Linked DNA regions of Homo sapiens: all the other regions are linked to region 4. Evidence: promoter capture Hi-C in 16 types of primary human blood cells and fetal thymus (Javierre and others, 2016). All regions are on one chromosome and are shown on one strand. The core of a region is centred on a gene start or on the middle of the fragment in contact, and the rest is flanking DNA. Distances in the headings are between cores, read along the strand shown.

Region 1 (6,728 bases), core at 1,860-4,359, 520 kb after region 4:
GGCCAGGCTGGTCTTGAACTCCTGACCTCAAGTGATCTGCCTGTCTCGGCCTCCCAAAGTGCTGGGATTACAGGTGTTAGCCATTGTGCACTCCCTCAAGCTCTCCTTTTAATTAAGGACTTCTTCTAGCTACTGAGTTCACTGTTGGGTAAGTCTTTGGTTCCTTCAGAATTGCTACATTTGCAGAGCGCCACCTTGCTCAAGGTTAGGTTCCTTCCCAAGTGGCCCACATGCAATTGCTGATCAAAGTGAAGGTATAAGAGGCCAGGCATGGTGGCTCACGCCTATAATCCTAGCACTTCAGGAGGCCAAGGTGGGTGGATGGCTTGAGCTCAGGAGTTTGAGACCAGCCTGGGCAATATAGCAAAACCCCATCTCTAAAAAAATAGAAAAATTAGCCAGGTATGGTGGCATGAGCCTGCAGTCCCAGGGACATGGGAGGCTGAAGTGGGAGGATGGTTTGACCCCAGGAGGTGGAGGTTGCAGTGAGCCAAGATTGTGTCCGGCCTGGACAACAGAGCCAAATGCTGTCCCCCGTCCCACCCCACCACACACACACACACACACAGAAACAAAACAAAACAAACAAACAAGCAAAACCTTAACGTGAAGGTATAAGAGCTTGACCATCTTAGCCCAACTTGGGACAACTCTAAAGGTCAATTGTAACATCCCAGACTCCCTATGTAATCTGCATAATCTCTCTCTGCCCAATCCGTGTCCTTCCCCCTCTGTTCCACAAGTGCTAACCCCAAGGGCACTCCTTAATAAATAACCTGCCTGTTAAATTCTGTTTCATAGTTTGCTTCCCAGGAACCCAACCTATGACAGTTGGTGGCAGGAGTGAGGTATGAGAAAGCAGGCACTAAGATGGGACTTTGGAGCATGATCACTAGCTGCCCACCTGACAATGAGGACCCCTATCACAAGATTACAGTCCAATTGTTAAAACTTTCATGCATGGTCAATTGGGTTGATACACCAGTAAAAGAGTATATATTTACAGATATGATGTATTAAGCATTTGAGAAACATGGGGGAAATAGCAACTATAAGGATGATGGAATTGATTGGTACTATGGACTGAAATATATCCCCCAAAATATCTGTATTGAAACCCTAGTCCCCAATGTGATTATATTTGGAGATAGGACTTTTAAGAGATAATTAAGGTTAAATTAGGTCATATGGGTGGGGTTCTACTCTGATAGTACTAGTGGTCTTTTAAGAAGAGGAAGAGAAATCTCTCTCTTTCTCTGTTTCTGCACGCATGCACCGATGGGGTTCTACTCTGATAGGACTAATGGTCTTTTAAGAAAAGAAAGAGAGATCTCTCTCTCTCTTTCCCTATCTCTGCACACATGCACCAAGGAAAGACCATGTAAGGACAAAGCAAGAAAGCAGCTATCTTTAAGACAGGAAGAGAGCCCTCACTAGGAATCAAGTCAGCTGGCACTTTGAAGTTGGACTTCCTAGCCCCCAAAAACTGTGATAAATAAAGTTCTGTTGTTTAAACCTCCTGATGTGTGGTATTTTGTTATAATAGTCCAAGCTGACTAAAACAGACTAAGACTATTGTTTAACCGATTGATGCACTAGAAAAAAGATAATGAAAAGTTGAAAATGATTAATCACCAATTTCTTCATTGAGAATGATTAATCACCAAGTGAAAATTAGAGAGTCTGCTTAATAGCTCACAAAGTGGCTCTCCTCTCCAGCAGTGGGGGTACAGAATAAGCTAAAGAATAAACTTAGAGTAGCTAAGCTCCAAAGAAGATTCACTTTCCAGTCAACACAGGTAAATCAAGTTAAGGTCAGGGCCCTAGTTGGGAAAGAATGGGGCTTGACACATTAGATGAGGACGTTCCTAAAAGTGGCCCACCCTCTCTGCACCATTGCTCAGAGATGGTGCAGAGACCTCTCTCTATCAAGACAACAAGTGTTGTCTGGGTGCAGTGGCTCATACCTGTAATCTCAGCACTTTGGGAGGCTGAGGTGGGAGGATCACCTGAGACCATGAGTTTGAGACCAGTCTGGGAAACATGGAGACCTTGTCTCTACAAAAAAAAAATTAGCCAGGCATGGTGGCACACATCTGTGGTCCCAGCTGAGGCAGGAGGCTGAGGCAGGAGGGTTGCTTGAGTCCAGGAAGTCAAGGATGCAGTGAGCCATGCCTGCACCACTGCACTCTATCCTGGGCAACAGAGTGAGACCCTGTCTCCAAAAAAATGCATAAATAAGTAGGCCAGGCGTGGTGGCTTATCCCTGTAATCCCAGAACTTTAGGAGGCCGAGACAGGCAGATCACCTGAGGTCAGGAGTTCAAGACCAGCCTGACCAATATGTGAAACCCTGTCTCTACTAAAAAAAAAAAAAATACAAAAATTAGCTGGGTGTGGTGGTGGGCACCTGTAATCCCAGCTACTCGGGAGGCTGAGGCAGGAGAATCCCTTGAACCTGGGAAGTGGAGGTTGCAGTGAGCCGAGATCATGCCACTGCACTTCAGCCTCGGTGACAAAGCAAGACTCCGTCTCAAAAAAAAAAAAAAAAAAAAAAAATTAGCTGGGTTCGGTGGCTCATGCCTGTAATCCCAACACTTTAGGAGGCCAAGGTCGCCAGATCACTTGAGGCCAGGAGTTCGAGACCAGCCTGGCCAACTTGCTGAAACACCGTCCTACTAAAAATACAAAAATCAGCTGGGTGTGGTGGAGCATACCTGTAGTCTCAGCTACTTGGGAGGCTGAGACAGGAGAATCTCTTGAACTGAGGAGGCGGAGGTTGCAGTGAGCCAAGATCGTGCCATTGCACTCCAGCCTGAGTGACAGAGTGACTCCATCTAAAAAATAATAATAGGTTGGGTGCAGTGGCTCATGCCTGTAATCCCAGCACTTTGGGAGGCTGAGGCAGGCAGATCATGAAGTCAGGAAATCGAGACCATCTTGGCTACCACAGTGAAACCCCATCTCTACTAAAAATACAAAAAATTAGCTGGGCGTGGTTGCACATGCCTGTAGTCCCAGCTACTCAGGAGGCTGAGGCAGGAGACTCGCTTGAACCTGGGAGGCAGAGGTTGCAGTTAGCTGAGATCCCGCCACTGCACTCCAGCCTGCGCGACAGAGCAAGACTCCATCTCAAAAAATAATAAATAAATAAATGTCTAATTGGACAGTTATTATAAGATCAGAGAGACAGTCGGGGGAGGTGGCCCTCAGAGGATTATTATGGAGATAATTAATGTGGTGTCCTTAGGGAAAAAAATAGGTGGGCAACCAATAAGGGTATTCAGTTTGTTTTTTAAAAATTTATGACCAGGAGACTGAATCAGTAACCCCAATTGAAATATAATTCCTTGACAAGTTTCCAAACATGAACTCATGCTTTAGACATGAAATCCATTAACTCAAGGAGAGATTAGGTCCCCAGGAAAAAATAACCTGTAACACCATGGTGAAAGTACACAGGAATGATTTTCTCCGTCCTTCCCCAATGGTTGTTCCAGAACTGTTGGACCTATGGCTTTACTCAAATAATCATGCACTGGGAAAATGGTAGTAGTACCAAAACATTTCAAAGACTATTGGTTCCAGACTCTGAATTAACGTTGATACATAGAGACCCAAAGAATCATTTATGGTCCCCCTATTAGGGTAGGTACATGTGGGGGTCAGGTAATAAATGAAGTCCTACCCAAGATGCCATGGTCTGAATGTTTAAGTTCACCCAAAATTAATATGTTGAAACCTAATTCCCAATGTGATAATATTAAGAGCGGGTCCCTTGGGAAATGATAGATCTTGAGGGCAGAGCTGTCATGAATGGGATAAGTACTCTTATAAAGAAGCCTGAGGGCTGGGCATGGTGGCTAGAGCCTGTAATCCCAGCACTTTGGGAGGCCGAGGTGGGCAGATCACATGAGGTCAGGAGTTCCAGACCAGCCTGGCCAACAAGGCAAAACCCCATCTCTACTAAAAATACAAAAATTAGCCAGACATGGTGGCACGTGCCTGTAATCCCAGCTACTCAGGAGGCTGAGGCAGGAGAATCACTTGAACCCAGGAGTTGGAGGTTGCGGTGAGCCGAGACTGCGCCATTGCACTATAGCCTGGACAACAAGAGCAAAACTCTGTCTCAAAAAACAGAAAAAAAAAAAAAAAAAAAAGAAGAAGCCTGAGGAAGCTGCCTTACCCCTTCCTCCATATGAGGACACAGGGAGAAGGTGCTATGTATGAAGAACAGGCCCTTACCAGACACTGAAATCTGCTGGCAACTTGTCTTGAACTTTCCAGCCTCCAGAACTGTAAGATTTAAATGTTCATCACTTATAAGCTACCCGGTTTTGGGTATTTTGTTATAGTAGTCTGAATTCACTAAGAAACAAGGTCCAGATCACATTGGATCTACTCTTCTACAGACCTATATGTTGGTAATTTCCCCATTTCCCAAATACATAATCAGAGTAGATATACTTCATAGTTGGCACAACTCCCTCATTGGGTCCTTGGCCTATGAAATAACAATTATAATGATATAAATCAAAAATAGTACTGTAGGCTGGGCACCATGGCTCACACATATAATCCCAGCACTTTGGGAGGCCGAGCCAGGCGGATCACTTGAGGCCAGGAGTTCGAGACCAGCCTGGCCAACATGGCAAAACCCCGTCTCTACTAAAAATACAAAAATTAGCCAGGCTTTGTGGCAGGTGCCTGTATTCCCAGCTACTTGGGAGGCTGAGGCAGGAGAATCGCTTGAACCCAGGAGGCGGAGGTTGCAGTGAGCCAAGATTACACCACTGCACTCCAGCCTGGGAGACAGAGCAAGACTCTGTCTCAAAAAAACAAAACAAAACAAAACAAAACAAAAAACAGTACTGTTGGAGGAATGGCAGAAATTAGTGCCACTCTGCTATGGTTTGAATGTGTCCCCCAAAAAGTATATGTTGAAAACTTAATCCCCAATGCAATAGTGTTGGGAGGTGAAGCCTAATGGGAAGTGATTAGGCCATGAGGGCAGAGTGAGTGAATTAATGCTGTTATCTTGGTAGTGGGTTTGTTATGAAAGGAAGAATTTGGACCCTTTTTACTCTCTCTCTCGCACTTCCACCTTTCACCATGGAATGAGGAGCAAGAAGGCCTTGCCATATGCCAGCCTCTTGCTCTTGGACTTTCCAACTTCTAGAACTGTAAGAAATAAATTTTCATTTATTAAAAAATCACCCATTCTGGCTAGGCTCAGTGACTCACACCTACAATCGTAATCCCAGCTCTTTGGGAGGCTAATAAGGCAGAAGAATTGTCTCCCAAGTCTGAGCTCTACAAAGTTGGAGGTACAGGTCCCCAGAAGGAGTGCAATTTTACCAGAGAATATAGCAAGACTCCCACTGAGTTCCAAGCTATGGCTATCAACCTGGGCCCTTTGTGTTCTTTGTGTCCAGGGATAGCAGGCAAAAAGAAGAGTCACCATTCTGGCATCAGGGAAAGGTTAGATAGCAGAAGCATGAATGTTTGGCATTTAGGTAATCTAACTGTGTACCTCCTGGTGTATGATTTTTCCCAATTTTGACCATAAATAGACAAATACAGCAACCTCGGCTTGAGAAAGGAATAAAAACTAGGGGAAACCCTTCAAAGATGAGGGTCTGGGTCATGCCACCAGGTAAGCCACTGAGGTAATAGCTGAGGTAAGAGGACTCTAAACTGGATAGAGGACAAGGGAGACAATAAGTATCAGTCGCAGCCCTGAGACTAGTGGCAGTAATAAGAGCTATGGTTTGCTCCATTAATCTTACTTTTCTAAATGTCCCACAGAAAAAGAGAGGCCCATCCTAATGCTGGTATTGCTGCTCCTAGAACATATATGAAGATGTAGATCTGAACAGAACAAGACTATGGTGGACACTGTGATATGCTGCTCAGATCCTCCTTCAATGAAGGATTACCTCAACTTCTGGGAATGCTATTGGCTCCTTCAGGGATTGCCTTAGCTACAGAGAGACAGGTCCCTTCCCAAGATGACTCATATCCAGTGATCAATGCCAGGGTAAAAAGGCCTGACTGACAGGGTGCAGACGGGGTGCAGGGGCTCATGCCTGTAATCCCAGCACTTTTGGAGGCCAAGGCAGGCAGATTACATGAGGCCAGGAGTTTGAGACCAGCCTGGCCAACATGACAAAACCCTGTCTCTACTAAAAACACAAAAATTAGCTGGGTGTGGTGGTGCACATCTGTTATCCCGGCTACTCAGGAGGCTGAGGCACAAGAATTGCTTGAACTGGCGAGGCAGAGGTTGCAGTGAGCCAAGATCACACCACTGCACCCCAACCTCTGTGGCAGAGCAAGACTGTCTCCAAAAAAAAAAAAAAAAAAAAATCCTGACCATCTCCAATTTGGGATAACTCTGAGGGATCATTTCAGTTGCAGAACTTCCTGTGAGGTCAGCTGAGGCTACCATTGGGTTTAAAATCCAATATAACTTCTCTGTCTGTTCAATTCTGTTTCCTTCCCCTCTTTTCCACAGATGTTGATACCAGGAGCACTTCATCTCAGAATCTGCCTTCCCCAGGACCCAACCCAAGATATCCATTTTATATCCTTATAATAGATTACTATGTATCTATTAAAAAGATACAACACTTCCATATTACCTGTTGGCTTAGAAAGAAACCCAAAGTACATTAAATTCAACAAAATCAGGTTAATATAAACTAGGAAAAAGTTTGGATACATAGT
Region 2 (6,993 bases), core at 2,766-5,265, 580 kb after region 4:
TTTGTGACTTAACATGTGTTCTATCCTTGAGAATCATCCATGTGATGAGAAGAATATGTATTCTGCAGCAGTTGGATGAAATGTTCTGTAAATATCTATTAGGTCCATTTGTTCTATATTGCAGATTAACTCCAATGTTTCTTTGTTGATTTTCTGTCTGCACGATCTGTCCAATGCTGAAAGTGGGGTGTTGAAGTCTCCAGCTATTATTGTATTGAGGTCTCTCTCTTTCCCTGTAATGTTTAATTTATATATCTGGGTGCACCAGCACTGGGTACATATTTATTTATAGTTGTTATAGCCTCTTGAAGAATTGACCCTTTTATTATTATATAATGACCTTTTTTGTCTCTTCTTACAGTTTTTGTCTTGAAATCTATTTTGTCTGATATTAGTATAACTACTTTTGTCCTTGTTTGGTTTTCATTGGCGTGGAATATCTTTGTCCATCCCTTTATTATTTTTGGTCTATGTGTCTCTTTATAGGTGAAGTGTGTTTCTTGTAGGAAACAGATTCACTGGGTCTTGCTTTTTAATCCATTCAGCCAGTCTGTGTCTTTGGATTGGAGAATTTAGTCTGTTTACATTCAATGTTATCAATAAGTAAGGACTTCTGCCATTTTGTTACTTGTTTTCTGGTTGTTTTGTGGTCTTCTCTTCCTTTTTACCTTCCTTCTTGTCTTTTGGTAAAGATGATTTTCTCTTGTGGCATATTTAATTTCTTGCTTTGTGTGTGTGTGTATCTGTTGTATGTTTTTTGACTTGAGGTTACCATGAGGCTTGCAAATACTGTCTTATAACCCACTATTTTAAACTGATGACAACAAAGATTGCATAAACATGCAAAAAAGAAAACTAATAAAAACTCTACACTTTAACTTTATCTCTCTGCTTTTTAACTTTTTGTTGTTTCTCTTTACATCTATTGTACTGTCTACGTCTTGAAAATTTATTTTTGATTGGCTTATCATTTAGTCTTTCTACATAAGAGCAGTTTACACACCACAATTATAGTGTTATAATATTCTATGTTTTTCTATGTGCTTACTATCACCAGTGAGTTTTGTACCTTTAGATGACTTTTTTTTTTTTTAGATGGAGTCTTGCTCTGGCACCAGGCTGGAGTGCAGTGGCGCCATCTTGGCTCACTGCAACCTCCGCCTCCCGGGTTCAAGCGATTCTCCTGCCTCAGCCTCCCAAGTAGCTGGGACTTCAGGCGGCCGCCACTATGCCCGGCTAATTTTTGTAGTTTTTGTAGAGACGGGGTTTCACTATATTGGCCAGGCTGGTTTTGAACTCCTGACCTTGTGATCTGCCCGCCTCAGCCTCCCAAAGTGCTGGGATTACAGGTGTGAGCCACCGCACCTGGACTCCTTTAGATTATTTTTCATTGCTGATTAATGTTCTTTTCTTTCAGATTGAAGAACTCCCTCTAGCATTTCTTGTAGAAAAGGTCTGGTGTTGATGAAATCCCTCAACTTTTATTTGTCTGGGAAACTATTTCTCCTTCATGCTTGAAGGATATTTGCACCAGCTATACTACTCTAGGGTAAATTTTTTTTTTCCCCCTTGGCACTTTAAATATGTCTTGCCACTATCTCCTGGCTTGTAAGGTTTCCACTGAAAAGTCTACTGGCAGACATATGGGAGCTCCATTATATGTTATTTGTTTCTTTTCTCTTGCTGCTTTTAGGATCCTTTCTTTATCCTTGATCTTTGGGAGTTTGATTATTAAATGCCTTGAAGTAGTCTTCTTTGGGTTAAACCTGCTTGGTGTTCTATAGCCTTCTTGTACTTGAACGTTGATCTCTTTCTCTAGGTTTGGGAAGTTCTCATATTATTTCTTTGAATAAACTTTCTACCTCTATCTCTTTCACTATCTCCTCTTTAAGGCCAATAACTCTGAGATTTGCCCTTTTGAGGCTGTTTCTAGATTTTTTAGACATACATTATTTCTTTTTTTTTTTTTTTTTTTTTTTGAGACGGAGTCTCCCTCTGTCACCAGGCTGGGGTGCAGTGGCGCGATCTCAGCTCACTGCAATCTCCGCCTCCCAGGTTCAAGCGATTCTCCTGCCTCAGCCTCCTGAGTAGCTGGGATTACAGGCACACACCACCATGCCCAGCTACTTTTTGTATTATTATTATTTTTTTTGAGACAGAGTCTTGCTCTATCGCCCGAGCTGGAGTGCAGTGGCGCCATCTCGGCTCACTGCAAGCTCCGCCTCCCAGGTTCACACCATTCTCCTGCCTCAGCCTCCCGAATAGCTGGGACTACAGGCGCCCGCCACCACGCCCAGCTAATGTTTTTGTATTTTTAATAGAGACAGGGTTTCACCGCGTTAGCCAGGATGGTCTCAATCTCCTGACCTCATGATCTGCCTGCCTTGGCCTCCCAAAGTGCTGGGATTACAGGCATGAGCCACCGCGCCTGGCCTACTTTTTGTATTTTTAGTAGAGATGGAGTTTCACCATGTTGGCCAGGATGGTCTCGATCTGACCTGGTGATCCGCCCACCTCAGCCTCCCAAAGTGCTGGGATTACAAGCATGAATCACTGTACACAGCCCACATCATTTCTTTTTATTCTTTTTTCTTTTTGCTCTTCTGACAGTGTATTTTCAAATGGCCTGTCTTTAATCTCAGTAATTTTTTTTCTTCTGCCTTATCAATTCTGCTATTAAGAGACTCTAATGCATTCTTCAGTATGTCAATTGCATTTTTCAACTTAACACTATTTCATAGTTATAATTATATGTGAACTCAATCCACATACCTGCCATCTTTACTAAATTTTGTTTAATCATTTTCTGACTGCATAAAAATCACTTGCTTTGTATCTCTCTTTTATTTAAGACCCCAAAGTATCAGCAACTTTACTGAACTCTTTTACTTTAGGAACTCAATGGAGGAAAGGAGAAATATTAGGTGATTTAATTTCCCATTTATTTTGCCTCTGGTTTCTGTGTAACTCTGGCTGGCCACTGTTGTAAATGGGAGTGAAGACCCTGAAAAATGAATGAGGCTGCTGAGGAGGGTGGTGGACAACAGCTAGATACTCACATTGCTTTTTGGATTCCCTTACTTTACAGTTAGGAGATACAAGATAGAGTTAGGTTGCAGAATTGTGACAACCAAAGCTCTGCACTACAACTAATTAGATCCAGAATTAGAGGTGCTTGGTTAAGAAGGTGACTTTCTCCAAAGCATATCAGCTAAGCCAGAGGACTCATTCATTTTTCCAGCATTTGTTGAGTCTTACACTGAGCTAGGGGTTGGAGATGTTTAGAAGAAAGATAAAGACATAATGCCTTTTCTTGGAGTGGTAACACTTTATCAGGGGATACTGGTACATAGGCACCTCACAATGATACAGTATGTCAAGGATGATGACAGAGCCCTGTAGAAAGTGTTCTAGAATCCAGAGAATGAACCAGATTGTTCAGTGAGAGGTTTTTCAAGTAGGTCACCAGGAAAGTTGAAGGCATGTGGGTGGGAATTTGCCAGAAATTGCTTTGTTGGGCATTAAGTAGCTGATAATCTCAAGTTGTAAACAAATGGTTTGGAATGTGACAGCCTGGGTTTGAAGCCTGACTGCACTATTTAGGACCTTGGTAAGCTTGGGCAAGTCACCAAACCTTGCTGAGCTTCGTTTAAGTTTTTTGAAAAAAGGAGTAATAGTACCTACCTTGTTGGACTTGTGGGTTTAAGTGAGATAATACATGTAAAGTGCTTGAGTCTAGTCTTTTTTTTTTTTGCCTATTTAAAAAATTGCATGTAAATCACTCTGCACAAATAATTATTCCTGTTAGAGCTCTCAGGGGTTAACAAACTGTAAACTCTTTGTGTCTTCTGCATTTGTGTGATCATTCTTCATTTTTTTTTTTGAGATGGAGTCTAGCTCTGTCGCCCAGGCTGGAGTGCAGTGGCACGATCTCGGCTCACTGCAAGCTCTGCCTCCCGGGTTCATGCCATTCTCCTGCCTCAGCCTCCCGAGTAGCTGGGACTACAAGTGCCCGCCACCAGGCCTGGCTAATTTTTTTGTATTTTTAGTAGAGATGGGGTTTCACAGTGTTAGCCAGGATGGTCTTGATCTTCTGACCTCGTGATCCACCTGCCTTGGCCTCCCAAAATGCTGGGATTACAGGTGTGAGCCACCATGCCCAGCTCATTCTTCTAATCTAGAAGTTTCTCTTTTAGTGTAGTTTAAATCTCAAACTGCTCCTTTTTACCAATTCTTATGCTATCCCAAAACAAATTAGTTCTAGGCTGAAATTGTCATTACTTTTGCTTTGTTCACCCATATTCTGATGTTAAAGCAAATCTATAGTTAATTGTATAATTTCCTTCCTTTAATGTGCATAGTACTTGTTGTGTCTGATATCTTTTCTCACCCATTAACATTTAAGTTCCTTAAGAGAAAGCTTATGCCTTCTTGGTCTTGTCTCTCATAATGTCTTAGCATGGTGCCTTCCACATCATAGGCACTCATAAATACTGACTGAATAAAGGAATAATCATGAATGCATGAGATTGCCAGATAGCTGATGTGATGTCAGACTGCCTTCATAGAAACAAAATCCCCCTGAACAGGACAAAGTATAGAAACTGAGGAGAGTGGTTAAGATGGTGGAAGGACTGAGGCCGGGTGTGGTGGCTCACGCCTGTAATCCCAGCACTTTGGGAGGCCGAGGCAGGTGGATCACGAGGTCAGGAGATCGACACCATCCTGGCTAACATGGGGAAACCCCGTCTCTACTAAAAATACAAAAAAATTAGCCAGGCATGGTGGCGGGCGCCTGTAGTCCCAGCTACTTGGGAGGCTGAGGCAGGAGAATGGCATGAACCTGGGAGGCGGAGCTTGCAGTGAGCTGAGATCGCGCCACTGCACTCCAGCCTGGGTGACAACAGCGAGACTCTGTCTCAAAAAAAAAAAAAAAAAAAAGAATAAAACATAAGATGGTGAAAGGACTGAAAACCATGATTATACATGGAATAATTGAAAACCCAGGGGCTATTCAGTTTGGAGAAGAGGAAACTTACAGTGGGAGAATTTAGATGAGGAGGGTAGGGAATAGTAGTTCACGTTATTGAAATGTTGTTAAGTGGAAGAGGGAATCAATTTGTGACCTCAGAAGACATATAGTAGCAGCCTCTGGAAATTACATGGAGAAAGATTTTGACTCATTGTTAAAAAGTAACTTTCTAACAATCAGGAATGACTTCCAACTGGCTGTTTTGAGAAGGAGTGTTTCTAGTCATTGTAGGTGGTCAATCAGAAACTGTACTATTTGATGGGGATGCTGTAGAGCAGTCATCCCCAACCTTTTTGGCACCAGGGACTGGTTTCATGGAAGACAGTTTTTCCATGGAAGGAGTCGGCGGGTGGGGGGTGTGTTCACGAATGGTTTCAGAATGAAGCGGTTCCACTTCAGATCATCAGGCATTAGAGTCTCATAAGGAACATGCAACCTAGATCCCTCACATGCACAGTTCACAATAGGGTTTGTGCTCCTGTGAGATATAATGTTGCCGTTGATCTGACAGGAGGTAGAACTCAGGCAGTAATGCTCGCTTGCTCTCCACTCACCTCCTGTTGTGTGGCCTAGTTCCTAACAGGCCACAGACTAGTACTAGTTCATGCACTGAGGGTTGGGCACCCCTGCTGTAGAGAGAAGATATACTTACTCTCAAAGGAATTGGAGTAGATGATCCCCAAAATCTTTTAAACTCTCATGGTCTTTAATTCTATGTATTGTAATATATATTAATGTATATATTTAATAAAGGTTAATCATATACAATGCTACTGTATATGGTATTGTATAGTAACCGTAAACAATAGCATTGTACATGATTTACCTTTATTAAATATATGTTAATATATGTATATATTTATGTATTGCATATTCTCATTATCACCAGATTGCCTAAATTAATGAAAGGTGAAAATGGCTTTTTAAAAATTTGATCTTGGATTATTTAAAAAAATATTACTAACATGTCTTTTGCTTGGGGACACTAGTGTATAAAACATTATATGAACAGTGTTTAAATTGCAATAAACAAATTTACATTGTTGTTAGCATGTCAGATGCAAGTAAATACTATTTTAATTTCTTTGTTAAATCTAAAAGGAGAAAAGTGAGCCAGAGTCAACTCATCCCAATTCAGATGAATTGTGTGTTTATTATTTATTTATTTTTGAGACGGAGTTTCACTCTTGTGGCTGAGGCTGCAGTGCAGTGGCGTGATTTTGGCTTACTGCAACCTCTGCCTCCCGGGTTCAAGCGATTCTCATGCCTCAGAAGAGTAGCTGGGATTATAGGCACCTGCCACCACACCCAGCTAAGTTTTGTATTTTTAGTAGAGGAGGAATTTCACCATGTTGGCCAGGCTGGTCTTGAACTCCTGACCTCAGGTGATCAGCCCGCCTTGGCCTCTGAAAGTTCTGGGATTACAGGTATGAGCCACTGCACCTGTGTGTTTAAAATTCAGGACTTCATCATCACCACCACCACTGTCTCACTATCACCATCATTGCTAACATATATATATAGCATTTATTATGTGTCTAGCTCTGTTGTAAACATACCACACATATTAACTCATGTACTTTTCCCCAAAATCCAACGAATTAAATACTGGTATTGCCATTTTTGTAACTTATTTTGTAGTAATTTCAAACTTACATAAAAGTTGCAAATATAATACAACAAACTCCTGGGTAAAAGATAACTCTCTTATTATTCTTCACCCAAGTTCTCCAATTGTAAACATTTTACATTTGTTTTGCCATTCATTTTCTTTTTCTGAACCAATCGAAGGTAAGTTGCAGAGGTGATATCCAATTATCCCTAACTACTTAAGTGTTTTCCTTTAAGACAAGGACCCTCTCCTGCATAACCACAGTGTTATCACCAAAATCAGAAATTTCACATTGATATAATTCCACTATCTAATCCACACACCACATTCAAAATTTGTCATTTGTCCT
Region 3 (7,516 bases), core at 1,698-4,197, 540 kb after region 4:
CACAAATTCCCCAGGGTGCCACAATCTCCCCCAGCCTACTTCACTGTTGTCTTGTCCCTGTAGGCAGTTGGATGTGCTCCCTCTGCAGTCAAAGGTCAAAGTTTTTCTTACCTTACTCACCTCTCCAGGGCCCAGGTACTGTCCATTACTGAGGCTGCTTGAAGCTGAACTTCAGGCCTCCCAAGCCATCCCCTTGTGGCTAGGTCTGAACAAAGCCTTTGAGCACTAAGTCTTCCACAGCACATCTCCCGATGGTGACCATGATCCAATGAGTAGTTTTCCCTGTTACTCATCTGCCTCCTGATAGATGTACTACATCTGGAGATGTGGAATTCCTCTGCCAAGATGTGCTTCTGCCCTTTTGGGACATTGACTAGATAGTCCAGAGGTGCCTGCCTCCAAGGATCCAGTCATTTACAGGCTGAAAGGCTGAAGAGGGGAAGCATCAGCTGGAAGTTCTTGCCAAGAAGGAGGAACCAAGAGAGCATGGGAACTGGAAACCATGGAGATAGCACAGACTGTGTGCCCACCTGCCACTGCCACAGGACACCCCCTATAAAATCCACCTTCTATGTCTCTTCATAAATGGGCTCTGTGGCTGGGAGCAGTGGCTCATGCCTATAATCTCAGCACTTTGGGAGGCCAAGGCGGGTGGATCATGAGGTCAGATCCTGGCCAAGATGAAAAAGAAAAAAGAAAAAAAGAAAAAGAAAAAGAAAGAAAAGAAAGAAAAAGAAGAAGATAGCAAAAAGAAAAAGAAAAAAGAAATGGGCTCTGTGTTTCCTCTATAAAACATCTCAAATACAACAGGTATCGAATAGAATGAGCTTTTAAAACAGTTCTACATGGTTTTGCTCACAGTAGGTTGAAACAATTCCACCAAAATGATATATAAATGGAATGAAGAATTAAAGAGTAGTGCCATTTTCTGGTTATTTTCCTGAGTCAGTTCTAATATCACCCACTCTGCAATATCTTTTCCCCTTCCCCTCCCCTATCACTAAATACTGTCATTTGTACCAACGAAATATCCCTGGGACCTCTGCACTTCATTCCCAGGGCCTCTGCTTTGATTAAAGCAGGTTGGCCCGCTCACAGCTCCCCAGTGTCTCTGACCATCTCCTCGCAGCTGTCAGGGGGAAGGTTCTAAACACAAATCAGTGCATCTCACTTTCCAGCTTAAAATCTCTCAGGGGTTCTCACTATCTCCAAAGTAAAAGCTACATTTCCTCACTTGATCCCAGAGTCCTGCTGACACCTGGCCCTGCTCCCTCTCCAGCCTCATCTTGTGCTTATACTCCCATCACATATAATTGCCCATAGAGCCTCAAAAGGTCCCCTATGTTTTCTGCCTCTCAGCTTTGGCTCTTGCTATTTCTCTGTACCTGGAATCCACTTTTCCCCCTTGTGAAACTCCCCTCAGCAAACTACTACTCATCCTTCAAGACCCTATCCAAGTGATTCCAGATCAATGAAGCCTCCTCTGTCTACCCTGCAAGGGAATAGCATGGGGCAAAATGACTACATGCCAGTTCCTTGTAGGCTGAGCACCAAAGAGAGATGGGGCTCTGACCATGGGTAGGGATCAAAGGAATAGATCGGAAGTTGCAAACTCAGAACTTACCCAGTCCTTATTCTGTCTCCAGAAGTGTTTTCTTTGTCAGGCATGGGTTTTAATTTTTTAATTTTGAGCAGCTGTTCTTCAGGTCTCAATTTATGTTACATTGTTGGTCCCGGAAGGCCTCTGGGTAAGTGGGTGAAAGGGTTGTGGGAGGGGAACTGTTAAGAAGGGCTATATAGGGCCATGCCGGTGGCTCACGCCTGTAATCCCAGCACTTTGGGAGGCCGAGGTGGGCGGATTATGAGGTCAGGCGTTTGAGACCGGCAGATTACGAGATCAGGAGTTCGGGACCAGCCTGACTAACATGGTGAAACTCCGTCTCTACTGAAAATACAAAAAATTAGCCAAGCATGGTTGCATGCGCCTATAATCCCAGCTACTTGGGAGGCTGAGGCAGGAGAATTGCTTGAACCCGGGAGGCGGAGGCTGCAGTGAGCTGAGATCATGCCACTGCACTCCAGCCTAGGTGACAGAGTGAGACTCCATCTCAAAAAAAAAAAAAAAAAAGGGCTATGTAAGTATTTGCTGTTTTTGGTTTTTGGACAGTACCATCCCTCCAATATACAAGGAAGAGTGTGGTGCTCTACTACTTGGTATACGTATGGCCCCAACCATAGGACTTCTTTTTTTTTTTTGAAATGGAGTCTCGCTCTGTTGCCCAGGCGCGATCTTGGCTCACTGCAAGCGCCACCTCCCAGGTTCACACCATTCTCCTGCCTCAGCCTCCCAAGTAGCTGGAACTACAGGGGCCCACCACCACGGCTAATGTTTTTGTATTTTTAGTAGAGACGGGGTTTCACCGTGTTAGCCAGGATGGTCTCGATCTCCTGACCTCATGATCTGCCCGCCTCAGCCTCCCAAAGGACTTCTTACAAGTTCAGTTAGAGGCACCCATGAGAGTAACCATGCTCAAAGCTAATGGTACAAACAGAGCCTCCTCAACAAGATCTGCCCCTTGCTGCCTGGGTATGTAGCTGGAAGGGCTAGGGCTGAGTGCTCACAAACTGGCCATCAGTGGCACAAGCCTGGCCACCATCAAGCCCTGTTCTACCTCTCTGTCATCTGTGTATCACAGGCTGAAATTGGTGTGCCATGTTTACTTAATTGAGAAAGAGAGAAGGCAATTTGATTTTTATCCTGCTGGTAGAGTCCTGCATCTTTTTCTGTATCCAAATAAGTCAGAACCAAGGCAGAAGCTTGCACAAAGCTTCCCAGGGAGCTCAAATACTCTCATGCTGCTTCCCCCTCCCCTCATTGCTTGGCCCCTTCTGTTCTTTGTATGTGCTTCTGTCATAGCACGTGGCACACTAGTATACCAAATGTTTTCCAGTCCAAAACGCTATAGATTGTAAGACATCTTTTAATCTATTAATTTAATAATAGATATCTGTGTCGGGGGAATCCATAACATTAAATGAACTCATCTATTCATGCATCTGACTTTGGAAGCTTTAAAATGTTTTTTAAAAGCGTCTTTAAATTGAGGAACTAAGTCAATGATTTTTTACACTGTTTCTCTTCAACAGACTGTGAACTTGGTGAAGTCAGGGACAGTATATTTTTGTCCCTCTCCTCCCCAACTCCCCACCCCCAGGCCATGCCTGTTGGTGTCCTGAATGAATGTTTCATTTGGAAATTTTTCTAGAAGCTCTCTTGGTTACTATGGTAACCCAAAATTGGCTTCAAAGCCCTGTGTACCAAGGGAAGCCCTGCTGAGGATGGCTGCCTGCTGACCTGGACTCTGAACCAGGCTGCATATGCTGACCTCCCTTCCTGGGCAAACAGAAAAATGATGGAAATGAAACACTTTTGATAAAAACTGCAGAGATGACAGCTTTGCTAATATAAAAAAATTTATTTTACATAATTCTGTTGACAATTTTCAAACTTTTTTACCAATGCAAAAAAAAAAAAAATCTGACCTCTCAAAGTCTTTTCTCGGTGAGCCCCTAGACAATTTGAACAAAGGACCCTTAGTGGAGAGTTAGAAAATCTATTCTCATGGTTCAGTAATTTGCTGAACTTCTGTTGAATCCATTTATTCTCTGAAAATATAAAGATTCCAGCTAAGAAATAATGCATATAAATACAATAATAGTGTCATTTCCCAGGTGCCTATTCATGCTCCAGGTACTTCACATAGACTTACTTGACAAACACTGATATATCATTTACTGTGTACTAAGCCCCTTTCTATGTTCTTTACACACATTAATTCATTTGATTCTTATAACAAGCCTATGAAGCAGCTTATATTGTTATTCACATTCAATTGAGGCATAGAATTGAGGCATAGAGGTTAAGTAACTTGCTCAAGTTCACATAGCTAGTAAGCTCTAGAGACCAAATTCAAACCCAGGGTGCTTGGCTCCAGAATCTGTGTTCCTCACCAAGTTGCTACACTGCCTTTTTTAATCTTTTCAATAATCCAGTAAAATAGTGACATCTATTTTATTGAATTGTACCAATTGAACAGATTGGATACTCAAGTTTAGTCAGGTAACATGTCTCCATAGCTTCTCTGCTTCTGACCACATTCTGCCCTGGGAAAATTCTGGAAACACTCCTAAGGGTTATTAGAATCAACTTTCCAGCTGGGCGTGATGGCTCACGCCTGTAATCCCAGCACTTTGGGAGGCTGAGGCGGGCAGATCACAAGGTCAAGAGATCGAGATCATCCTGGCCAACATGGTAAAACCCTGTCTCTACTAAAAATACAAAAATTAGCTGGGTGTTGTGGCGCCTGCCTGTAGTCCCAGCTACTCAGGAGGCTGAGGCAGGAGAATTGCTAGAACCCGGAAGGTGGAGGTTGCAGTGAGCTGAAATGATGCCACTGGACTCCAGCCTGGCAACAGAGCGAGACTCTGTCTCAAAAAAAAAAAAAAAAAAAAAAAAAAAAATTCAACCTTCCATCTCCCACTTCCCCAAATACATATACATACATTCACAGGAAATGTACACTGTTTCTCTCAAAGTTATTTTTAGGAGTCTAGGAGCCCCACATGCACAGAGACAAATTATTTTTAAGTGATGCTGTAAGGCATGCACTGGCAGGAATTGAATATGCAAACATGAGTTCAATTAATTAGAAGAGAGTGTTTCTTTTAAGAACACAAAATAACTGCTGTTTGAAGTGTGAGCTCGTAATCAGGAATACTGTAACTTAAATGCCTAAAGCATTTGAACTATATTAGCCTAAGAAAGTGCTCTTGGGATATGGAAGAGTATTGTCTTCCACAGACCTGTCAGTTGGGAGAAGATATAATACCCTAAAGCTGGTTCCACTCCCCTAGGTGTAACTTTGAGTAGGTTGAACATACAATAGTAGGGTAACCAACCATCCTGATCGACCTGGGACTATCCAGGTTTTAGCACAGAAAGTCCCCCATACTAATGAAACCTCTTAGTCCTAGAAAAACTGGGATGGTTAGTCACCCTCAATTGAGAACCAGTTATGTTCCAGCAAGGTGGTTTATGCCTGTAATCCCAGCACTTTGGGAGGCTGAAATGGGTGGATCACCTGAAGTCAGGAGTTCGAGACCAGGCTGGCCAACCTGGTGAGACCCTGTCTCTACTAAAAATACAAAAAATCAGTCGGGTGTGGTGGTGCACGCCTGTAATCCCAGCTACTTGGGAGGCTGAGGCAGGAGAATTGCTTGAACCCGGGAGGCAGAGGCTGCAGTGAGCTGAGATCGTGCCACTGCACTCCAGCCTGGGCAACAGAGTGAGACTCGGTCTCAAAACAAACAAACAAACAAACAAAACAGTTATGAGTGACAATTTCTGGGAGAAATTCCCTTTTGCCTGGAGAAGAGGAAATGAGGGTAGTGAGAGGTAAAGTTCATGCCAGGCAGAGAGAGAGCAGCTTGAGCAAAGGCCGAGAGGTGTGAAATGTTAGGGGGCTTTTGGGAAGTTGCAAGACTCCCTCATGGCTCTAGTTTAGAGTTGAGGAGTGATGTAGAGTAGAAAGTGAGGGGAAAGGGAGGTGACTGGCCAGATGTTAAACTAATGGAATTTGAAATTCCTGGATAGAGCTTTATGAGCCTGGTTCAATATTAAGGAGCTGTCACCAGGACCAAGAGCTCTTTTCTGGTGATGATGGTCTTTTTGAGTCTTGGTTAAATTAAAAACAAAAGAAAACAAAATGAAAATGGGCTTGGGGCTGTGGGCAGTGGCTCATACTTATAATCTCAGCACTTTGGGAGGCCAAGGCAGGCAGATCGCTTGAGCTCAGGAGTTTGAGACCAGCCTGAGTAACATAGGAAACCCTCTCTCTACAAAAAATACAAAAATTAGCCAGGTCTGGTGGTGCATTCCTGTAGTCCCAGCTACTCGGGAGGCTGAGGCAGGAGAATCACTTTAACCTGGGAGGTGGAGGTTGCAGTGAGCTGAAATCACACTGCTGCACTCCAGCATGGATGACAGAGTGAGACCCTGTCTCAAAAAAAGAAAACAAAAAAAGTAAAACAATAATAAAAGGGCTTGGCTTATAGAATCTTAAATCAGTGGTCATCAAACATTTTGACTCACATATTCTCTAAAATAATTTGAAAACTACGTATCTCCTTGCATTTTTTAAGTTGACATTTAACATTTTTATCATAAGTTTAATCATTGCAAACTATATAGTTTCTGGCACTTTAAAAATACAGACATTTGGCCGGGCGCGGTGGCTCACGCCTGTAATCCCAGCACTTTGGGAGGCCGAGGCGGGCGGATCACAAGGTCAGGAGATCAAGACCATCCTGGCTAACACGGTGAAACCCCGTCTCTACTAAAAATACAAAACATTAGCCGGGCGAGGTGGCGGGCGCCTGTAGTCCCAGCTACTCGGGAGTCTGAGGCAGGAGAATGGCATGAACCCCAGGGCGGGGAGCCTGCAGTGAGCCGAGATCGCGCCACTGCACTCCAGCCTGGGCGACAGCGAGACTCCGTCTCAAAAAAAAAAAAAAAATAGACATTTTAAAATTAAGTCATTATATAACTTTTAAATAAATCCAGTGGAATCTAAATAACAAAGCAATTCAATATTTGATATCCTCCCCATCAACATTATTATCATTATTATTATTTTTTGGAGATAGAGTCTTGCTCTGTGGCCCAGGCTGGAGTGCAATGGTGTGCAACGGTGTGATCTCGGGTCACTGCAACCTCCGCCTCCTGGGTTCAAGTGATTCTCCTGCCTCAGCCTCCTGAGTAGCTGAGATTACAGGTGCCCACCACCATGTCGGCTTTTTTTTGTATTTTTAGTAGAGATGGGGTTTCACCATGTTGGCCAGGCTGGTCTTGAACTCCTGACCTCAGGTGATCAGTCCACCTGGGCCTCCCAAAGCACTGGGATTACAGGCGTGAGCCATCACACCTAGCCCCAAACCAACATCCATTTAAAAAATACATGAACAGTCCATCTCAGTGGCTCACGCCTATAATCCTAGCACTTTGGGAGGCTGAGGCAGGCAGATCATGAGGTCAAGAGATTGAGACCATCCTGGCCAACATGGTGAAACCTCGTCTCTAATAAAAGTACAAAAATTATCTGGGTGTGGTGGTGCGCACCTGTAGTCCCAGCTATTCAGGAGGCTGAGGCAGGAAAATCTCTTGAACCTGGGAGGCGGAGGTTGCAGTGAGCCGAGATGGCACCACTGCACTCCAGCCTGGCAACAGAGTGAGACTCTGTCTCAAAAACAAAACAAAACAAAACAAAACACGAACAACCTCTTTTTCAGCAGAAAATTTTACATTGGCCTTTTTTCTCCTTGAACTTATATTTCCATTCCACTTTCTCCACAGATTTTTTTTTTTTTTGAGACAGAATTTCACACCCGTTGCCCAGGCGGAAGTGCAATGGCACAATCTTGGCTCACTGCAACCTCCGCCTCCCGGGTTCAAGCGATT
Region 4 (6,950 bases), core at 2,254-4,753:
AACTTGGCCAGGTATGGTGGCTCACATCTGTAATCCCAGCACTTTGGGAGGCTGAGGCAGGCGGATCACTTGAGATCAGGAGTTCAAGGCAAGCCTGGCCAACATGGTAAAACTCCATCTCTACCAAAAAATACAAAAAAATTAGCCGGGCGTGGTGGCACACGCCTGTAATCCCAGCTACTTGGGAGGCTGAGGCAGGAGAATCGCTTTAACCTGGGATGGGGAGGTTGCAGTGAGCCAAGATTGAGCCACTGCACTCCAGCCTGAGTGACAGAGCAAGACCCTGTCTCAAAAATAAATAAATAAATAAATAAAAATAAACCTTACAACTCTGAGGTAGAACTATTATTATTCCAATTTTACAGAAGAGGAAACTGAGGCCAAGTTGTCCAAGTCACACAGAGGTAACTGGCAGAGTTGGAACTAACCTCAGGACAGTCTAACACCAATGACTGGGCTCTTGTTATTATGTCATGGGTAACAAACTCAGAACACAAGGGTTTCACAGATCACCCCCTCTCCACTTTTACAGAGGAAACTGAGATCCTTAGGTGAATGACCCTGTGTTATCCAGGAAGTCAGGGCAGAAGCAAGATTTGTACCCAGGTGTTGACTCCAAATTTTCAGCTCTACTGTCTCAGAAAGTGAGAAAACTAAAAGATCAGGGTGACTCCTGTCTCACAATGGAGAAAAAAACTCAAACACAGCCACCAGCGGGGGGACTAAGGACAGGAAAGCAGCCTGGAGCATAGTGGTATTAAAGGGCAATTACTGGATAATTGCCTCCTACCTCCAACTTCCTCCTACCCCCACCCACCTGCCCCAAGCTGGAGCTTGCATGTGAGGTCTGAGGAATAACATTACAGATCTATAGAACTATGGAGTGCCCATAGGCAGGGCATTAGGACAGTGAGAAAGAAGTGGAGGGAGAGAGGACTAGCTGGAGGAAGCAGTTAGGTTCAGTGAGCCTCCCTGTGTTGGGTTTTCTACTAAGCACTGGTTATCTAAAGTTAAATAAGAAAAACTTCCTTGCTTCTGAGGATCAGGATAGACTGCATGGAGGAGATGATACCTGAGCAGGTTTCAGAGCCTGAAAAGACATAGAGGAGGGGGCGAAAACCTCTGGACTCACATGCAATTGCCTATTTGCTAGCTCGATTCAATTTCACAAATACATTCTAAAGGCCTTCTCTGCGTTGGGCCTTGTTCCAGGTGCTGGGACCACAGTGGTGAGCAAATCAGCTGCAGTCCCTGACCTTTGGCTGGAGAGTCTGTCTAGGAAGACAGCTAAACAATCTTAACACAGTGTGAGATGTGCTTTATGTAAGGAACCTACAAGGCACTGTGGGACAAGGGAGTCCAACTGCCCCCAGGCCAAAAGCAAGTCCCAATTTCTGAACATGAAAAAACTCTTCACAATCTAATGCCATTCTCACTTTCCAGTCTCATTTACCACCATTTCCCCAAAAGCTGGGAACACAACAAAGTATGTGTGTGTGTCTGTGTATGTGAATCTGAACATGCCAGGCCTTTGCTCACACTGCTTCTGTTCCCTGGCATATGGATGCTTTCTTGGAGAAACTCTCCTCAACACACTCAGCCTTACTCAAATTCTCTCTTGTGCTCCCAAGGCAATCTGCCTCTCTAGGTTGTCCATCTGCCTCTCTAGGTTGGTAAAGTCTTTAAAGCAAGGACCCAAATGCAAGGTCAAGAGTACCCATTACGGAGTTATACAGATACAGGTGGGCTTTGCCTAGCCAAGAGGCTTTGGCCTCTAAGCTGCCCTCTCTATCTAGATGAACTGTTACTACTCCAGGAAATGCAATCAGTACTGATGTTTAGTTCTTGGCACATGGTAGGTGCTCAAAAATGTTTTCTGAGTTGAATTGCATTAACATTAAGGTCATAGGTCAGAATTTGTACTTTATGAAGGCCCTGGCTATGAGCTGGATCTGGGAAGGGCTCATGATCAACTTTAGCAGTTTTCTGTGGCTAAAAATGAGAAATATAAACCATGTTCTTTGTCTTGAAGACCTGCCTGTTAGTGGGAGAAACAGATGGTCAAGCTCTCAACAGTACAATTCCAAATTCCTAGAGCAGTGGTTCTTAAACTTTAGCAAGCAGATCAGAATCACCTAAAGGTCATCTGCTAAAACAGATGGCTGGCCCCAGCCCCAGAGTTTCTGATTTAAAGGTCTGGAGTAAGTTCTGAGAATTCGAGCTTGCATTTCCAACTCACTCCCAGGTGATACTGAAGTTGCTGGATTGACAAGATTCCCTCCTTGATCAAACATTGGTCAGGCTCTTCTGAGCTCTCTCTTTGACTAGGCCTGAGTGTGGGCTCCCATGTCATTCCTTGTGGAATTCCATTTTAGCAAGAAACTTGCCAAGTCAGTTTAGCCAGAATCCTCCATTCTTGATATCTGATTACTCTCCATATCTGGTTTTGACCCATACCGCCACCATCCCCCAGGTGATGTTCAGTTACCCTGACCTGCCTTGGGCAGGAATCCTGTTAGGTCAATTTAGCCAGATTCCCCGCCAATGTTTCCTCTTAGTAATTTTCCATCCACTGACTTCCACACACTGCCCCTTAGCTATAAATTACCACTTTGCTATATTCAGCCCAATCGCTCTGACTTATGGCAAAACTCTATCCCTACCTCTGTCAGATTGGGCCTGAATAAAGTTTGCCTTACCATTCTTAAACATGAATAATTAAGTGTCATGAATAGTTTTTTCTTTAATGGGATCCATACTTTGAGAACTACTGATTAGAGGTTAAGGGTCCTGTGCTCATTATCTGGCACATATTAATGATAGGTCTCTGAGTTTGAATCCTGGCCAACCACATTGTCAGTCTTGGCTTTTTTTTTTTTTTTTTTTTGAGACAGGGTTTTGCCCAGGCTGGAGTGCAGTGATGCAATCACGGCTCACTGCAGCCTCGACTTCCTGGGCCAAGCCATCCTGCCGCCTTAGCCTCCCGAGTAGCTGGGGTCACAGGTGCAAGCCGCCATGCCCAGCTAATTTTTAATTTTTTTGTAGAGGTGGGGTCTTACTATATTGCTCAGGCTGGTCTTGGGCTCCTGGGCTCACCTACCTCGGCCTCAGTCTTGCCTCTTGATCAAATCACTCATCTCTCTGTGCTTGATTTACCTCATCTGTGAAATCCAGATAGTAAGCTAGTGCATGGTAAGTGCAAAAAGCAACACCTGGCACAATGCTTAATAAATGTTGGTTAAATCTTATAATCATTTTCTGTAGGAAGTGGGACGACAAAGTTAAGGGTCTAGGTGGTCAGAGAAGAGCAAGGACTATGTCCCTTTTTTGTGCAGCCAGGCAGGCCCTGTACTTTTTCTCTGCGCGACCCTCCTCGGGCAGCACCGGGTCTCGAACTCTCACGCCTTACTCCCAAGCAGGTTCTGTAGTCCAGCCCCCGCGGCTCCCTACAGCCAGCCGATGCTGCGCAAGCGCCGTACCCACGCTTTAGCACATGCGTACTCAGGTGCGCCGGTAGGGGACGCGCCGGCACAGCAAAAATGGCGGCGGCATTACGGGTGGCGGCGGTCGGGGCAAGGCTCAGCGTTCTGGCGAGCGGTCTCCGCGCCGCGGTCCGCAGCCTTTGCAGCCAGGCCACCTCTGTTAACGAACGCATCGAAAACAAGCGCCGGACCGCGCTGCTGGGAGGGGGCCAACGCCGTATTGACGCGCAGCACAAGCGAGTGAGTCCTGAGGGGCCTAAGTGAGTCCCGCCCCTGGCGTCCGCGACCTATCACTGCGTGCCCGGCTTGCGGCGTCCGAGGCCTCCCTGCCAATCCGCACGGTGCCTGGAGGGGCCGGAGCAAGGGTGTTCACCTTGAAAACCTGTAGCGTTTCTCGTGGAGGCGGGTATAACCAGCAGAAGCACCTGTGTGCTTTTTCATACTGTTTAACCCTTGGGATTTAGACGGATCTGGCTCGTCTCTAGCCAGCTCAACACTTAACATAAGCTTTTGGGCAACTTATTAAATCTCTGTGGGTCATTTTAATAATAATTCTTCCTTCACAAGTGTATCGTTAGACCATAGATAGCAAAATGATAGGCGCTCAGTAAAAACCATGTGCTTATTCTCGTGCCCCATGAAAGAGTGATGGTAGGTTCTTTCTCCTTTGTGGAAGCAGGAAAACTGAACTTGGGCATACTCCACTAACATGAAATGGGGGATGTGCGCGTGCAGGAACTTGTGGAACTTCTGCCCGCAGAATGCCTGGTCGAGCTCTTTAGGGCCTTAGCATGCCTCGCCTTGATGGGTAGCAAAGGCACGTGTCGGAAGCAGGTGGCCTTTCTGGGAGTGCGCAGGCTACTCTCGATGTTTGGCTGGACTGAGCAGTTGAAACACTGCCACCCACCGCCTGGGTTTTGAGGCGAGAATCCAGCTGGCCTTCAGAGATAAGCTGGGCGGCCCATTTTGGAGAGGTGATCCCTGACTTGAAACCAGGCTTGCCCAGTGTGTCCGTGACTGGTGGGTGAGTCTGGACCGTTGTGCTGAACGAATTAACCAACGGGAAGGTGCAGAAGTGAAACTCTTACAGATGAAGAGTATTCAGGCACAACTCACAACCATGAGGGAGGCACTGGGGGAGGGATGGGGTCTTAAAGTGAGGAGATTTGAACAGCTCTATATTTGTCTAATATTGATTCAGATGTCATAAATTCGCATTTGACAAGGGTCCAAAGGTAACAGTTCCTTTTGACACTTGAGAGTGAAATGTAAATTTAGTGATGGTTTGTGGTGCTAGGAGTGCTTTCTCTCCCCTGGGGCTACTTCTAACCTACTCTGTTAGGGCTGAGGGAGATGTTAGATCATCCTCTGGAAAGGCCTGTCAGTGCTCCTGTACACTCTTTCTGTTGGGGCCTATTGCTCAATTCTTCCCTGGAACATCGCCTAGCCCTTTCCCAGGTAGATCCTACTAGGTTTAGATGAAGCCTCCAGAAGCTGTTTTTCTTTTGCCAAAGTTAACTTAGGAGGCTGATTTAATATGAACCCCCTCCTGCACCCCTTTTTATTTTTATGTTTTGATACGGAGTTTTGCTCTTGTTGCCCAGGCTGGAGTGCCATGGTGCGATCTTGGCTCATTGCAACCTCTGCCTCCCAGGTTCAAGCTATTCTCCTGCCTCAGCCTCCCAAGTAGCTGGGATTACAGGTGCCCACGACCATGCCTGGCAACTTTTTTTTTGTATTTTTAGCAGAGACAGGGTTTCACCATGTTGGCCAGGCCGGTCTTGTACGCCTGACCTCAAGTGATTCACCCACCTTGGCGTCCCAAAGTGTTGGGATTATGGGTGTGAGCCACTGCACCCGGCCCTGCACCCCTTTTAAAACAATTTTTGACCATTTCCGTAGATTTTCCCAGAAGAGGAATTAGTGGGTCAAAGGGTGTAAGTTTATTTATTTTTTTTGAGACAGAGTTCACTCTGTTGCCCAGGCTAGAGTGCAGCAGCTCACTGCAACTTCTGCTTCCCAGCTTCAAGCAATTCTCCTGCCTCAGCCTCCAGAGTACCTGGGGTTACAGGTATGTGTCACCACATCTGGCTAATTTTTGTATTTTTAGTAGAGATGGAGTTTCACCATGTTGGCCAGGCTGGTCTTGAACTCCTGACCTCAGGTGATCCACCCGCGTCTGCCTCCCAAAGTGCTGGGATGACAGAATTTTTTTTTTTTTTTCCTTGAGACAGGGTCTTACTCTGTCACCCAGGCTGGAGGGCAGTGGTGTAATCATGGCTCACTGCATCCTTGACCTTCTGGGCTCCAGTGATCCTTCCACTTCAGCCTCCTACCCAGCTAATTTTTTTTTTTTTTTTTTTTTGGTAGAGACAGGGTCTCGCTTTGTTGCCCAGGCTGGTCTCAACTCCTGGGCTCAAGCAGTCCTCCCACCTTGGCCTTCCAAAGTGCTGGGATTACAGGTGTGAGCCGCAGTGCCTGGTCAGTATAAATATATTTTAAAAATCTGTATATATGTTGCCAAATTGGTTTCCTGAAAACTTACTCTACTTTACATGACAGTGTATAGGATTGCCTGTTTTTTGTTTTGTTTTTTTTTTTTTAAATGCAACCTCACCAGCTTTGGCTACTTTCCTAAGGGGAAAATAATAGCCAATTTGAGGTATTTTTTGTTTGTTTTTGTTTTTTTCGGGGAGGGGGGGATAGGACAGTAGGCTAGGGTATTTGCCTCGGGTTGAGAGCTTGGGAGTCCAAGCAATGGAGGTTTTTTTTTTTTTTTTTTTTTTTTTAAGATAGAGTCTTGCTCTGTCACCCAGGCTGGAGTGCAGTGGCGCGGTCTTGGCTCACTGCAAGCTCCGCCTCCCGGGTTCATGCCGTTCTCCTGCCTCAGCCTCCTGAGTAGCTGGGACTACGGGTGCCCACCACCACACCTGGCTATAATTTTGGAGTTTTAGTATAGACGGGGTTTCACCATGTTAGCCAGGATGGTCTCGATCTCCTGACCTCGTGATCCGTCTGCCTCGGCCTCCCAAAGTGTTGGGATTACAGGCGTGAGCCACTGCACATGGCCTCTTTTTTTTTCTTAAGACAGGGTCTCACCTTGTTGCTCAGGCTGGAGTGCGGTGGAGTGATCGTGGCTCACTACAACCTCTGCTTCCCAGGTTCAAGTGATTCTCCTGCGTTAGCCTCTTGAGTAGCTGGGATTTAAGGCACGTGCCACCACACCTGGCTAATTTTTGTATTTTTAGTAGAGACGGGGTTTCACCATGTTGAGCAGGCTGGTCTCTAACTTTTGACCTCAGGTGATCCTCCCATCTCGGCCTCCCAAAGTGCTGGGATGACAGAATTTTTTTTTTTTTTTTTTTTTCTTGAGACAGGGTCTTACTCTGTCACCCAGGCTGGAGGGCAGTGGTGTAATCATGGCTTAGTGCATCCTCGACCTCTGGGCTCCAGTGATCCTCCCACTTC

What was found. Contacts are between HindIII fragments. The CHiCAGO score rates a contact against its expected background, and 5 or more counts as called.
Region 1: a fragment that was not itself captured here is called in contact with the fragment with the promoter of PCCB in region 4 in 1 of 17 cell types (neutrophils); the score reaches 7.7 in neutrophils.
Region 2: a fragment that was not itself captured here is called in contact with the fragment with the promoter of PCCB in region 4 in 8 of 17 cell types (fetal thymus, neutrophils, naive CD4 T cells and 5 more); the score reaches 8.4 in fetal thymus.
Region 3: a fragment that was not itself captured here is called in contact with the fragment with the promoter of PCCB in region 4 in 7 of 17 cell types (total CD8 T cells, non-activated CD4 T cells, total B cells and 4 more); the score reaches 7.1 in total CD8 T cells.

Annotation. Positions count from the first base shown.
Region 1 is chr3:136,766,916-136,773,643 of GRCh38, forward strand. No RefSeq gene overlaps it. Among named protein-coding and RNA genes, the nearest start is that of STAG1-DT, 18 kb to the left of the region's middle. The HindIII fragment of the contact is 8,760 bases long and covers 1-6,728 here.
Region 2 is chr3:136,828,149-136,835,141 of GRCh38, forward strand. The region is part of intron 1 of SLC35G2 (solute carrier family 35 member G2); the gene reads left to right. Among named protein-coding and RNA genes, the nearest start is that of SLC35G2, 13 kb to the left of the region's middle. The HindIII fragment of the contact is 805 bases long and covers 3,614-4,418 here.
Region 3 is chr3:136,789,876-136,797,391 of GRCh38, forward strand. No RefSeq gene overlaps it. Among named protein-coding and RNA genes, the nearest start is that of SLC35G2, 25 kb to the right of the region's middle. The HindIII fragment of the contact is 242 bases long and covers 2,827-3,068 here.
Region 4 is chr3:136,246,837-136,253,786 of GRCh38, forward strand. PCCB (propionyl-CoA carboxylase subunit beta) reads left to right here and starts at 3,504. Exons shown (of 15, transcript NM_000532.5): 1 at 3,504-3,722. The coding sequence starts at 3,540. RefSeq lists enhancers at 3,143-4,009, 3,239-3,298, 3,929-3,978. The HindIII fragment of the contact is 10,493 bases long and covers 1-3,987 here.